Regions from separate parts of the Homo sapiens genome. Here region 1 is linked to region 2. Evidence: promoter capture Hi-C in human tissues and cell types (Jung and others, 2019). All regions are on one chromosome and are shown on one strand. The core of a region is centred on a gene start or on the middle of the fragment in contact, and the rest is flanking DNA. Distances in the headings are between cores, read along the strand shown.

Region 1 (2,700 bases), core at 59-2,558, 120 kb before region 2:
CTTTTCTTCTATTAATTTTTTGTTTTTGTCTTGGTAGAGACAGAGTCTTGCCATGCCGGCCAGGCTGGAGTGCAGTGCTGTGATCTCGGCTCACTGCAACCTCCACCTCCCGGGCTCCAGCAATCCTCCCACCTCAGCCTCCCAAGGAGCTGAGACTACAGGTGTGAGCCACCATGCCTGGCTAATTTTTATATTTTTTACAGAGACAGGGTTTCACCATCTTGCCCAGGCTGGTCTCAAACTCCTGGGCTCAAGCAGTCCTCCTGCCTCAGCCTCCCAGAGTATTGGGATTATAGGTGTGAGCCACTGCCAGAAAAACTTTTCCTAAGACAAGGCAGGTTTTACATTATATTTAGATTTTTTTTAATGATGTCTTTTTTGGCAGTGCACAGCCAGAGAACAACACATCACACACAGGAAACAGTTGTGCTCATGTGATGGGGGCCTCAGCACTAGGAAGGAGTGGACTATTGGCACACGCAGCAGCTTGAATAAATCTGAAAGTCACTATGCTGTGTAAGAGAAGCCAAATTTAAAAAGTGCATGCTGTGTACAGAGGGTGTCAAGAATGCCTCCTACGTGACGGAAAGCAGATCCGTGGTTGCCTGCAGACTGGCAGGAGCAGATTCCAAAGGCACAGGAAGAAGCTTGTGGGTAGAATGTGTTCATTACCTTCTGTGCATTATACCATAAAAAAGCTGGTCACAAAAATGCAAACCAAAAACAAAGGTGAAACTAGGATAAGATTTCTCACCTGTGTGATTGGTAAACGTGCAGATGTGCCGTCATGCTTTGTTTATGAAGCTGTGGGATACAAGGACTCTCATACGTCACTGTGGAATGCAGAATATTGCAGCCTCATGGAAGAGGATTTGGCAGCGTCTAACAAAACTACATGGCATTTGCCCTTTGACTCAGCAATTCTAGAATCTGCCTCAAAAAAACTCCAGCAAAGAAATGAAAGGACTTTAGGCACAGAGTTCTTTTCACAGCCTGCATGTGTTTGCAACAAAGTTCTTCACTGTGGCGTTTGTAAATGTGGGGAAAAGAGAGATCAGGCTGGTACTGTGTCTGTGTAGAAAAGGAGGACGTAAGAAACTCCATTTTGATCTGTACCCCGAGCGATTGTTTTGCCCTGAGATGCTGTTAATCTGTAACTTTAGCCCCAGCCTTGAGCTCACAGAAACCTGTGTTGTATGGAATCAAGGTTTCAGGGATCTAGGGCTGTGCAGGACGTGCCTTGTTAAGAAAATGCTTACAGGCAGTACGCTTGGTAAAAGTTATCGCCATTCTCCATTCTCGATAAACCAGGGGCACAATGCACTGCGGAAAGCCGCAGGGACCTCTGCCCAGGAAAGCCGGGTACCATCCAAGGTTTCTCCCCACTGAGATATGGCCTTGTGGGATGGGAAAGACCTGACCATCCACCAGCCCGACACCCGTGAAGGATCTGTGCTGAGTAGGATTAGTAAAAGAGGAAGGCCTCTGTCTCCTGCCTTCCCCTGGGAACGGAATGTCTCAGTATAAAACTGATCGTACATTTGTTCAATTCTGAGATAGGAGAAAAACCACCCTGTGGTGGGAGGCGAGACATGTTGGCCGCAATGCTGCTGTTACTCTTTACTCCACTGAAATGTTTGGGTGGAGAGAAGCATAAATCTGGCCTACGTGCACATCTAGACATAGTACCTTCCCTTGAACTTACTTGTGACACAGATTCCTTTGCTCACATGTTTTCTTGCTGACCTTCTCCCCACTGTCACCCTGTTCTCCTGCCACATTCCTCTTGCTGAGATAGTGAAAATAGTAATCAATAAATACTGAGGGAACTCAGAGACCGGTGCCAGTGCGGGTCCTCTGTATGCTGAGCGCCAGTCCCCTGGGCCCACTTTTCTTTCTCTATACTTTGTCTCTGTGTCTTATTTCTTTTCTCAGTCTCTCATCCCGCCTGATGAGAAATACCCACAGGTGTGGAGGGGCTGGTCCCCTTCATTCTATAGTTATTATAAATGTACAGGAACATCAAAAGGAACTTGTTTGTATAATGTCACAGTACAAGGTACGTAGCCCAGGAAATGACCAATCTGATGGGTGTTATAACCCATCCAAGCCCCCTGCGACCACCGTTTTTAAAATAAAAAACTGGTCCTTTCCTTGGCGATACAAGTAAAATAATAACTAGAAGAGAAGAAAAAGAAATTCCCAAACAAGTAACTTTAAAATTTGATGCTTGTGCAGCCATTAATGGTAACAAGCTAGAATTAAAATGGAGTTCTCTTAACTAGGAAAAGAGCTACACAGTAAAAAATAAATATGTTTGTCATAAGTCAAGGATCTGTGAAAATTGTGCCTATTGGCCATGTGTTATTTAGGCTACTTAAAAAAAGGACAAAAAAGACCCAGTTCACCTTCAAAAAGGGGAAGCCAATCTCTCCTGTGCTGCCGGTCACTGTAACCCACTAGAACTAATAATCTCTAATCCCCTAGACCCCCACTGGAAGAAAGGAGAACATGTAGGCCTGGGGATTGATGGGACAGGGCTAAACCCCCAAGTTGCTATTTTAGTCCGAGGGGAGGTCCACAGGCACTCTCCCAAACCAGTGTTTCAAGCCTTTTATGATGAGCTGAATCAGCCAGCACCAAAGCTTCAGAAAAAGACAGAGCCACACACACCCTGCATCACCCAGGCAGGGAAAATGA
Region 2 (2,700 bases), core at 29-2,528:
TTTTTGTCATGGCAGCCCCAGGGGGTCACTAGGCTCCCACTTGATTCCAACTCAGCGTGAAGTCACAGCCCTGAGTGCCTTCTGCCTGGGTGCCAGCCCCGGAGCCGGGGAGCGGGGGAGCGGGGGGCGGGGAGGGGAGTGGTGGTGTGCGGGGAGTGCGGGGCGGGCGCAGGGGGTGGGGCACCGCGCTGCGGGCGGGTACTGCGGAGTCAGGCACCAAGGGTCCCTGCCTCCCTCACTGCTGAGCGCGGGCTGCAGGCTGGAATGGCTGGAGAGCCCCAGGGCTCGCCTGGACGCCCAGGGCAGGGTGCTCACGGGAGCATCGAGGGTACACGGGGAGGAACGCCGGGGTTCGGGCGACCCTAGGGGCGACGCACAGAGCTGGGCGCGGCCACTCACCTCGGTGCCTTCTAAGGACCTGGACATCCTGGGCCTTGGCGGCCTGGGGGCTCCATTCCTCCGCGCGCTGAATGGAAGAAATCCCGCCCGGGCATCTCGGAAGGAAAGCCTCGGAGTCCATTCGGCCCTGGAGCCGGATACCAACCGCCAGGGCTTTCCAGGCCCGTCCCGGGAAATGGTTTTCTTAGGCGAGTGCGAGGCGGGCCCCTCGGTTCCGATGCAGGCGCACTAGATGCCGGCAAGGCGGGGACTAGGCCTAGGGGACCTCGGTCGCCTCGAGGTCGCGGAGACCCCAAGGCCACGGAAGGACCCGCGTCTCCGCAGCCCGCACGCCGGGAAGCGTGCAGAGTCCTCGGCGGGGTCCCGAGCCCGCTGGTCAGAGCGTGGAGCGGCGGGGTGGGAGGGACGTGGTCCCCAGAGCGCGGGGCCACCGTAGGGGCCCCTGATGGGGAGGGAGGGAAGGGTCGGCCCGACGGGGTCCCAGCAGTTCCCCGCGCGCAGCCGCTCGGCTCCCTCCCCGTCCAGCTGGGAGCCGCCAGCCCTGGGCGTCCGAAGATAGCGGGTGCCCGGGGCAGCCCCCAGGGGTGCGGGCGAGGGCGCAGGGCGGCCCAGACAGTTCCCGCGTGGAAGGCGCCCGTCTAGATCCGCGACGTCTCGGACCCCCAGGCCCCCGCACCCCGTGTCCGAGGCTCCGGGACGCGCAGGACAGTGGAGCCGTGGCCGCCGCTTGCTCCCAGCCATCTGCGTCCGGGAGGCGGGGGCGGGGGCGCGGCCCGGGGAGGTGAGGAGGAGGAGCCAGGACGCGAGGGCGACCCCGTCGGCGGGAGGGCGGGGCGGGGCGGACCCTGTCTACTGGATAAGAGCCCGAGGCCGAGGCTGAGACCGCCCAGCGCTGCGGAGCGGGAGGGGAGGCTTCGCGGAACGCTCTCGGCGCCAGGACTCGCGTGCAAAGCCCAGGCCCGGGCGGCCAGGTGAGGCCAGCGTCGCTCGCGGCATCGGGGCGCCCCGCTCCTTCCGCAGACCCCGAAGTGGGGCGCAGGGGCGGGGGCCGGGGACCGGGCACAGTCTGGGGTCCCCGCGTCCCGCAGACCGCGCCGTCTCCAAAGTCGCCAACAGTCGCGGGTGCCGAGCGCCCCCCGATAGCGCCACATGGGACCCTGAGGCCGTCCGAGGCGCGAGGAGGGTGCAGGGCTGCCCCTGGCCCCGCTCCAGGCTCAGAACCGGGTGGGCACCTGGTGCAGTCACCGGCTTAGGGGACGCGTGGGTGTCTATGGCTGTGACTCGGGGGTCCTGGTTTCTTCTCGTGGAACTTAACCCTACTAGGGGTGCGGCGCATCCCAGATCCGATCGGAGTGGGTTTTGTACACCGCCGCTCCATCTCGCGGGGGCTTTGTCTGTGTTGGGGGTGGTGGCGGGCGCGGGCTGCGCGCTGGTGCTCTGGGCAGGGCGGGGAGGCCGGGCGAGGACTCGCCAGGCAGCGCCGCTTCTTGTTCTGGGCGCGGTGAGGAAGGACGCTTTCTAACGGGCCACATTTTGCTGTGTAGACCCAAAACTCGCCTCTGAGGCCCCGCGTTCAGGAGCGGGGTCAGGTGGCCCCAGGGCGGCGGCGGCTTGCCGGAGACTCGCGAGCTCCGCACCCGACGCCCTCTCCCAACGCGGCCTCCTGCTCGCGCCGCGGAACCCCTTCGTCGGGTGTTTTACCCACCGGAGGGGTCGTGCCGGTTGAGGTTGTCACCGGGTGCGTGGCATAGCTCGTGATAGCTCATGGGTGAGGTTTTGTGCAAACTTGGATGCAGGGAAAGTTGCCTGTTAGAGCCTCCACCTGCGACCTGCTTCAGTCGTTGTGTGTGTGTGCGCACCTGTGTGAGTGTGAGTGTGTATGTGTGTAAGTGTATGTGCTCGCCTGTGTGTGTGTGAGTGTGTATGTGTGTTTGTGAGTCTGTGTGTGTCTGTGTGTCTGTGTGTGCGTGCGCTCGACTGAAACACGCTGCTGCTGGATCCAAATGACAGAAGTCGCCCTGGCTGGGGCGGTGTAGACGCTCCTGCTCTCCTGCTCAGCGTTGCAGGGGGGTTTATGTAGCCGTTTGGACAGGATTTCCCGGGTTACCCTGCTGGCCCAGGAGCTAGTTCCCGCGATGAAGCCCTGTCCATCCTCCGCCCAGCTCTCTCACGCGGGGTGGTGCCACCTGCCCTAGGTGGATGTGGCTTGTACAGACACTTTTTGAGGAAGCAGTTGTGATGGTTATGTCTAAACTCTCTTTACAGTGGCTGATTTTGCTTATATAAATTTTGCTCTTTATT

What was found. Contacts are between HindIII fragments. The study calls those that stand out against the background at their distance.
Region 1: a fragment that was not itself captured here is called in contact with the fragment with the promoter of SLC6A3 in region 2 in 5 of the 25 tissues and cell types used here (H1 embryonic stem cells, lymphoblastoid cells, mesendoderm cells and 2 more).

What each region holds. Positions count from the first base shown.
Region 1 is chr5:1,566,684-1,569,383 of GRCh38, reverse strand. No RefSeq gene overlaps it. Among named protein-coding and RNA genes, the nearest start is that of LPCAT1, 44 kb to the right of the region's middle. RefSeq lists an enhancer at 2,694-2,700. The HindIII fragment of the contact is 6,111 bases long and covers 1-2,700 here.
Region 2 is chr5:1,444,018-1,446,717 of GRCh38, reverse strand. SLC6A3 (solute carrier family 6 member 3) reads left to right here and starts at 1,278. Exons shown (of 15, transcript NM_001044.5): 1 at 1,278-1,370. RefSeq lists an enhancer at 141-640. The HindIII fragment of the contact is 20,714 bases long and covers 1-2,700 here.